Linked DNA regions of Homo sapiens: region 2 is linked to region 1. The links are contacts of gene promoters, found by promoter capture Hi-C in human tissues and cell types (Jung and others, 2019). All regions are on one chromosome and are shown on one strand. Each heading gives the region's core, a stretch centred on a gene start or on the middle of the fragment in contact. The rest is flanking DNA. Distances are from core to core; before and after follow the strand shown.

Region 1 (3,926 bases), core at 939-3,438:
CCCAGAGAGTGTCTTTTCCAGCTTTGTCATTTTACAGATGAGAAAACTGAGGCCCAGAGAGGGGAAGAGACTTGCCTGAGGTCACACAGTAAATGGGTGGCAGGGCCAGGGCTTGGATCTATGTCCTGACCCCCATCCAGTGCTTCCCACCTCACAGGTGATCACTAGGCATTGCAATTTTCCGATGCTGTAGGAGTAAGGAAAGATCAAGGAGACAGCAGATCCAATGGGTCTCCTTGGTCTCCATCTGAGGTTGAAGGGAGACTAGGGAGGGAAACCCCAGGCTCTGCTTTGTAAGAGCTCAGAGCCAAGCTGGGGCACCCAGGAGTGGGAGTATGTGCCAGGCAGAAAGAGGGAGGAAGGGACTTCTGGTGGGGGAAACCATGAGCAAAGGATGGGGGTGGTTGGGGGTAGCAGGAAACACTCATCACAGGTAGGGTGGATTATTTGCACGGTCAGGTTCAATTTGTGATTTTTGAGGCTCAGGGCAGTCGGGGGTTGAGGAAGGCTTCCTGGTAGATGAGGCAAGTGCTGAAATTAGGACTTGAGGGTTGAGTCAGTGATAGATGGATGGAGGGAAGGCATTCTAAAAGGGAGGGGCAGCTTAGGACAAGCACATTCAGAAACAAAACCCTAGCATTAGCCATTTGTCCCAGAGACACCCGCATGACCACGTTACCTGAAGCCACTTATTATTCTGAAAGGGCAAAAAAAGACCCTGCCCTGAGTGACCCTAACACCTGGCATCAGTTCTGGCCTGGGGACGGGAGACTGGGGTGAGGCTCAGTCACCCCGTCTGTGAGATGGGGCTGGGGCTGGAGGAGACCTTCACCAAGCCCCTCCCAGCTCTGTTGCCTGGCTCAGAATTTCACAGCCCCTTTGGGGATGATTTTTAAAGAGATTTGACATGGGGTGTGCCGGGACATGAGCACACGTCATGGCACGCACCTGTGCATTCACAGTGGTCGAGAAGCGCTACTGTGGATTATTTTAAGCCCAGATATATCTTCCATTTAGTGAATATTGACTATTGGCTTGAACACTTCTCGATACTTAAGCTCCTTTTCATCCCTCAGGTCTCAGCCTAAATGTTTCCTCCATAAGGAGTCCGTCCCTGACCCCTTTATCCCATATCCCACCCTATTGCTTCTCGTTCCCTGCCAGACTTTAGGATTTAGGAGGAGCAGGGCTGTCTCTGCCACCGAGATAAAAGAGACAAGCCCGGTCTGCTTGGCACAGAGAAGACACCCAATAGATGTGAGCCGAATGAATGAATGAGTGAATGAGTGAATGAATGCAGGCATTGGCTTGGACTGGGAAGGCAGGCCCATGGTAAGGGCCCATCTTAGTTTGTGCATTAGGTGAGCCCTCAGTGACTTAGCCCGCTGAGAGCAAGAGAGAGTCTGGTGGGAACCTCCTCTCTCTGGGTGGACATAGGCCCTGCTCCCATGGGCCCTGCCTTCATTCTTTTCAGCCAAAGCTCAAAACTGAAATATACACTTGGCCCTTGGTTGGAAGAGTTTCAGATCTTGGTAAGTAAGAGGGAAGGATTTCTATGGGCCCGGGGTGGGGTAGGGCTTTCCTGGGAACCTGAAAAGGTCTGGGGTGGGAGGTCCTTATGCTAGGAGACCTAATGTCTGTGCCTCAGTTTCTCTATCGGAGAGGCGATGTCTCAAGAGGCCTTTCAGGGCTCAGAGTTGAGCTTTCTGAGTTCCACATGGAAGTGAGCTGAGCTGGAAGAGGTGGGGAGGGACCCTGGCTGTAGGGTCAAGGTGGGGACACAGGGCTCCCCACTCCCACAATGCCGTGTGGGGCTCAAGGAAAGTCTGGAACTCTCTCTGTGGCTCCAGCATTCAGCCGTCCTTGAACCCATGAAAAACTGCAGTTGAACCTTCCTCCAACCCCATCTTGCAGGCTGGTCAGAACACACCATGTCCATGGGGAAACTGAGGCTTACAGAGGGAAATGAGCTAGCTGGGGGTGGCTGGAGGCCCTGTGTTTAATCTGGGGGTTCCTCAATCCCTTGGAAGAGGGCAGTGCTCATGTTTGCTGAACTGGCTGGAGTCTAAAGGCTCTTGGACCCCAGAAACACCCAGGGGGCTCAATCTGCTCTGAGACAGAAGGTCCCCAAGGGGACCAGGGTCTGGTGGGCTGCGCCCAATTCAGGCCCCTTGGCACAGGTGGTGCCATGCTGCGGATCCTGTGCCTGGCACTCTGCAGCCTGCTGACTGGCACGCGAGCTGACCCTGGGGCACTGCTGCGGTTGGGCATGGACATCATGAACCGTGGTGAGCTTGTGGGCCCGGGCGTGCAGCTGGGAGGCGGTGCTTGGGGTAGGTGGTAGGTAGTCACTGCTCTTGGTTGCACATCCTGGAGCATCCCGTGAGCTCCAAGTAAACTTATAAGCAAGTGTTATTATTATTCTCCCACTTTACAGAGGGGAGAAACCAAGGACCAGAGAAAATGGGATGATTTTCCCATGCTCCCCCTGCAAGTTAGAGGCAGAGCTGAAAATCCTGCTCCTTTGGAGTCTCTCCTTGGCCCTGATGGCAGGGGTTTTAGCCACAAGTGGGCTGTGGGAGTGACAGACAAGGGTCAAATCCCAGCAACAACTTGCTGTGTGACCTCAGGCAAGTTACTTGGCCTCCCTGTGTTGCTGTTTGCTCATCTGTAAAGGTGAAATGTAAAGAAATGTAAAATAGGGTGACCAGTCTGTCCCTAGCAGGATAGAATAATCTCTTGGAGGAGACCTTAGTAAAATGTGTTTTCCACCTCCATCCCCCACTCCACTAGCACAAGGGAAACCGAGTCACATCCAGGTACAAAAGGCTAATGACTGTTCTACCAGCTCAGTGTTTGTGCCCTCTCTGGAATTAGCTTGTGACCATAATGGAGGTGTTTCTGGCGGGGTGTTACTTGGGGTTGGGTCCTCCAGGTTTGGGGAATCAGAATTTCTCTGCTTCAGGCCCAAAGTCTGCATTCAAGTCCCCAGAGGAGTCCCCTAATCACCTAGGCTTGGGAGTGGCTGGTCCACAGGATAAAGTCAGTACCCTAGGGTTCAAGAGCTTCACTACATGCCCCCTGCAAACTGCTCCAGTTTCTCTGTCGTGTCTGTCCTCACCCTCCAGCCATGCTGAATCTATCCTCTTCCCCCAACTGTGCCACCTTCTCTCCCACCCACCTTTGCACTTGCTGTGCCCTCTGTCCAGACTGATATCTTTTATCCCTTTGCTTCCTGCTGAAAATTACTATTCCCCTTTCAAGTACCAACTGATCTGTCACCTCCTCCTGGAAGCCTTCCCCAGCTCTTCTCTTCCTACCTAAACCCTCGTGCGGCTCCTACAGCTTGTTACTGTCATTGCTGGTGACTCCATCTTCCCCCATTAGGCTGGGGCGCTGTGGGACTCATCTCTGGGTCTCTGCCATCGTCCAGCCCAGGGTGGGGCACAGTGACGGTGAGTGGCCTGGGATACCTGAGTGATTGGCCCAGGGAAAATCTCTCCAACTAAGTGTCTCCACTCCAGAGGTCCAGAGCGCCATGGATGAGAGTCATATCCTGGAGAAGATGGCAGCCGAGGCAGGCAAGAAACAGCCAGGGATGAAACCTATCAAGGGCATCACCAAGTGAGTAGGGGAGGGGAGCTGGAGGGTGGTGGTTAGGGCAGAGGGTGGTGGGGATTGCTGTGCCCAAGATCTTAGCAGGCCAGGTAATGGAGCTGGTGAGGGATGTGGGGTCTCTTCCCTGCCTTGTGCTGTCTTGCTGTGTGGCCTTGGGTAGGTCACTGCTCCTGCCTGTGCCTGGACCTCCTCAGCCATTCACTGGGGACAATTTCTGCTTTGTAGTGAGCAGGGTCATTTTGAGGAGGAAATGAGGTTGGAAAGTCAAATTTCAACTCTGCATGCAACATGAACTCATTGAATGTACG
Region 2 (3,926 bases), core at 909-3,408, 220 kb after region 1:
AACAATTTGTGCCCCTTAGCAAGAATCACAAGGTTGTACTGTGTCCCTAGTCTCGGCATCTTCCAGGATGCTCGTTCTTGCATCTGAGGCGGATGTCTTAGTCCATTTTGTGTTGCTATAAGGAAATACCTGAGGCTGGGTACTTTCTAAAGAAAAGAGGTTTATCTGGCTCACAGTTCTGCAGGCTGTACAAGAAGCACGCTGCCAGCATCTGCTCAGCTTCTGGAGAGGTCTTTTGTGTGGTGACACAACTTGGCAGAGAAGGCCATAGAGGAAGCAGGCACATGCTGAGAAGGGCCAAACTCAAGGGGTGTCCTGACTTTATAACAACCCTCTCCCGTGGGTGCTAATACATCCTCCCAGAACCAATCCAGTCTTGTGAGAGCAAGAACTCCATCACTACCAGGAGAATGACACTAAGTCATCAGTGAGAGATCCACCCCCATGACCCAAACACCTCCCACTGGGCCCCACCTCCCAACACCATCACTTCTGGCGATCAAACAAATGATATCCAAACCATAGCGGTGGACTTTCAGTTGTCGATTGTTGCTGGCTGTGGGGCACAAGCTTAACTGGCACAAGACTTCTGTCCACATTCCATTTTAAAAGGTCCTTTGCTATGATCATCCACAGGAGTGACAAACATTTGTCTCCTTCCAGGCAGCAAGCTGCTGTCATAGTTTTTGTTCCCACACAGGGGATTCTGTGATGGTTCAGTCACTCAGTTACCATTCTCCTGACCAGATGGCTAGGCTGTTGGCAATGGCCCTTGAGTCAGTGAAAATGTAACAAGATATGGTGGTAGAATGGCCCCCACAGCTGTCATCACTGCACATAATTCAGCTCATTAGGCAGAATGTCCAATTCCAATCCCAGCCAAAAGATGGCCATCTGCTGGCTGAGGGGCAGCTGCAGCCCAGTGGACCCCATTTGCCTTTAGTTTTGCAGAGCCATCAGTAAACCAGGTCATATAGTCAGTAGACACATCTTTGAATCTTGGGTCCCAGGTAGCCACAGGAGGGTTCAGAGCATCTCCCTGTGGGTTGCTTGGTGCTTCTGGGAAGCTGGCTATTTGTTCATGGAGTCTACTTGTCCTAGTTGACTTGGATGTACCATTTCCATTTAATGATTGAGCTCTGTTGAGCTTGTCCGGTTTTATTGGTGGGATTTGTAAGCACCCCAGTACAGGTTACAGCATCACAGGTGGCACTCCTGCCATAAAATGCTCAGTCTCCTCTAGTGCCCAATAGCAAGCAAGGAGTTGCCCTTCAAAGGGGGTGTATCTGGTGGCCACCACAGGCAAGTCATGTGTCCAATAGCCAAGAGGCTGGTGCACGCCAGTGGCAGTTTCCTGTTGCCACAGATTCCAATCAGCATGCTTGGCGGTCATGGACGCACGGAGTCCCATTGAGCTAGCAGGTTCCAAAGGTCCCAAAGGCAGTACCTGAGCCATGACTTGTTGAACTACTTCCAAGTCCTGCTGCTGCAAGGGGCCCCATTCAAAACTGGTGGTTTTGTGGGTCACCTTGACGAGGAAGGCCAAAAGAGCACCCAGACAGGGCATATGCTGTCTCCTGTATACAAATAGGCCTATCAGCTAATGGGCCTCCTGTTTATTAGTGGATGTCACTAGGGCCAACAATTGTACTGGGGATACTTTTTTGGTTTCCTATACAAATGACCCCTGGGACATGCACTTATTGTGCTGAGTCCTGGACTTTATCTGGATTTATAGTCCAGCCAACACCAGTTATTGTATCAATGGCCTGTTTTTCAGTAGGCCCTACTATCAGGATATCATTTATGCAATGGATGACTAAATCTTCTATGAGGACTTGGGCTTGTTGAGGGTCAAGCCCCACCCACTGGTGGCATATGGCAGGGGAATTGAGGTATCCCTGAGGAAGAATAGTGAAAGTATTATGCAGGCAGTTCCTTGTGAATGCAAATTGGTCACAAGGGGATTGAGTAAAAGCACTAACCAAGTTAATAACAGCACGCTAATCTCCAGTAAGGGTTCCCACTGCCTCAGTGACAGTGATGACATCTGACACCTCATGGGCCCAGGGCAAACCCCAACATTCAGCCTGCATTCCGTCTACCATCAGCCACCATACCCTGGAGGCTTTTCAATCAGCCAGACTGAGCTGTTACATTGACAGGGTAGTTTGTAACATTCCTACAGAAGCGCATCCCAAATTCACAGAGTAATATCCTCTTCTCCACTTGGTATGCAGTACTGTATTTGTGGAATAACCTACTGAGGCTTGGAGAATTTAAGTGGCAGGTAGAGTGGACACACCTCACTGTTACGGCTCAAATTCTCAGCTGTGAGGGGGAATATCCCCTCAGGCAGTGGTGATGTTCTGTGCTACAAGCAGCCAAAATATCAATGCCCGTAATGCACTCGACACAAGGAACCATGGTCACCAGCACTCAAAATGGCTCAAAGAGCCTCACTCGCAAGCACATAAGTACCACAAGCAGGTAAGCACCATGGATCACCATGTTAACCCCCAAACCATCCAATGACATCAGTTTAATTTTTCCCCTAAGGAAATCCAGAAATATTGTCATATGGGAACGAGTATCCACGAGCCCCAGAAAAGTCTGAATCTCTTTCTTTTCCCATTTATCTTGACAGGGGTATAAGATCATTGGTCTCCAGTGGGAAGCCAGGAGCCTTGGCCCCATTCCTAACTGTGCCATTCAACCTGAGACATTTGAGTCTGCAATATCCCTTTATCAAACAAACACACCATCCGGGCTGTATTAGACTTTCTGGCTTTTGTCCACATTTTCCCTTTTATTGTCAGATATCCTCTTCAGAGAATGACCTCATTTCAATAGTCTAGTTTTCAGCAATGCCTTCTGTTGTTCAGCACTTTTTGGAAACAGGCCTTACTTGAGGCCTGCAAGCAACCTGGACCAGGCAGGATTCCCTGCACAGGGCCCCCCATTCCCCCCAGACATCATCTGTGGTCCCTGGGACACCATGGGAGTTGACATTATGTTCCATTTATCCCTGGGCAGCGAGCACCTCAGTCAGTCTATGACCCCTCAGAGGAGCTGGTACCACCTTGGGCAATGGGGCTGACAAGCCCTTGCCTTTCCACCATGTGATGGTCTATTTCCTTGGCAACCCTGCACACTATGTCAAACTGTTAAGCTGAACGTCCTGCACCAGTGACCAGTCCCAGGGGAGAGGAACACCATGCACAGGTTACCAACCCTAGGAGAGGGCTCCAAACACTTCTGCCCATTTTATCTTGGTATGGGAGTCACCAAGGAAAATATAACACTTTACTTATGTAGAGAAGAGACAAAGCAAAATCAGCTTCAATCGTATGCATTTGTCCCCCATGCCAGCAGATCCCCCCAATAGCCAGTGCAAGGCAATTGGCTATGGACACCCCTCTCATGCCACGGATGGACTCTGACCCCTCTCCTGTGGAGTTAGAAATACCAAAAGCTGGGGGCATATCTGAGGGCCATTGACATATACACTTAAGCAGAACAAAGGGGCACACATTGAATCTAAAACAGGGAAATATATTCCCATGCAGGGCCTGGAACAGGCCACGTGAGCCCTTTATCTCTTGGTAAGGAAGTGTTCCAAGCCCAAGACCTGTTCTTATATGACTGAGTGGGAGTCGAAAGGCTGCATGCATGAGACTGGTTTTCCCAACACAATCATTAGCTGACCAGTAAGCTAACTAAGCAGACACAGCAGTAGCCACACATGACAAAGAATACAGACTTTACAGAATTTGTTCAGAAAAATCAGTAAACAAACAACTACAAGAACAAGTAACAACCAAAAACTCTGGAGTGGAGGGAGAATCCAATTTCTGAAACTGCCATGTTATATTATTTAAAATACCAGTGTTCAACAACAATAAAAAAATGAGATACGCAAAGAA

What was found. Contacts are between HindIII fragments. The study calls those that stand out against the background at their distance.
Region 2: a fragment that was not itself captured here is called in contact with the fragment with the promoter of BPIFB6 in region 1 in 2 of the 25 tissues and cell types used here (lymphoblastoid cells and spleen).

The regions. Positions count from the first base shown.
Region 1 is chr20:33,029,460-33,033,385 of GRCh38, forward strand. BPIFB6 (BPI fold containing family B member 6) reads left to right here and starts at 2,189. Exons shown (of 15, transcript NM_174897.2): 1 at 2,189-2,285; 2 at 3,525-3,624. The coding sequence starts at 2,189. The HindIII fragment of the contact is 18,408 bases long and covers 1-3,926 here.
Region 2 is chr20:33,248,915-33,252,840 of GRCh38, forward strand. The region is part of intron 1 of LOC105372593 (a long non-coding RNA gene); the gene reads right to left. Among named protein-coding and RNA genes, the nearest start is that of BPIFA1, 15 kb to the left of the region's middle. The HindIII fragment of the contact is 7,810 bases long and covers 1-3,926 here.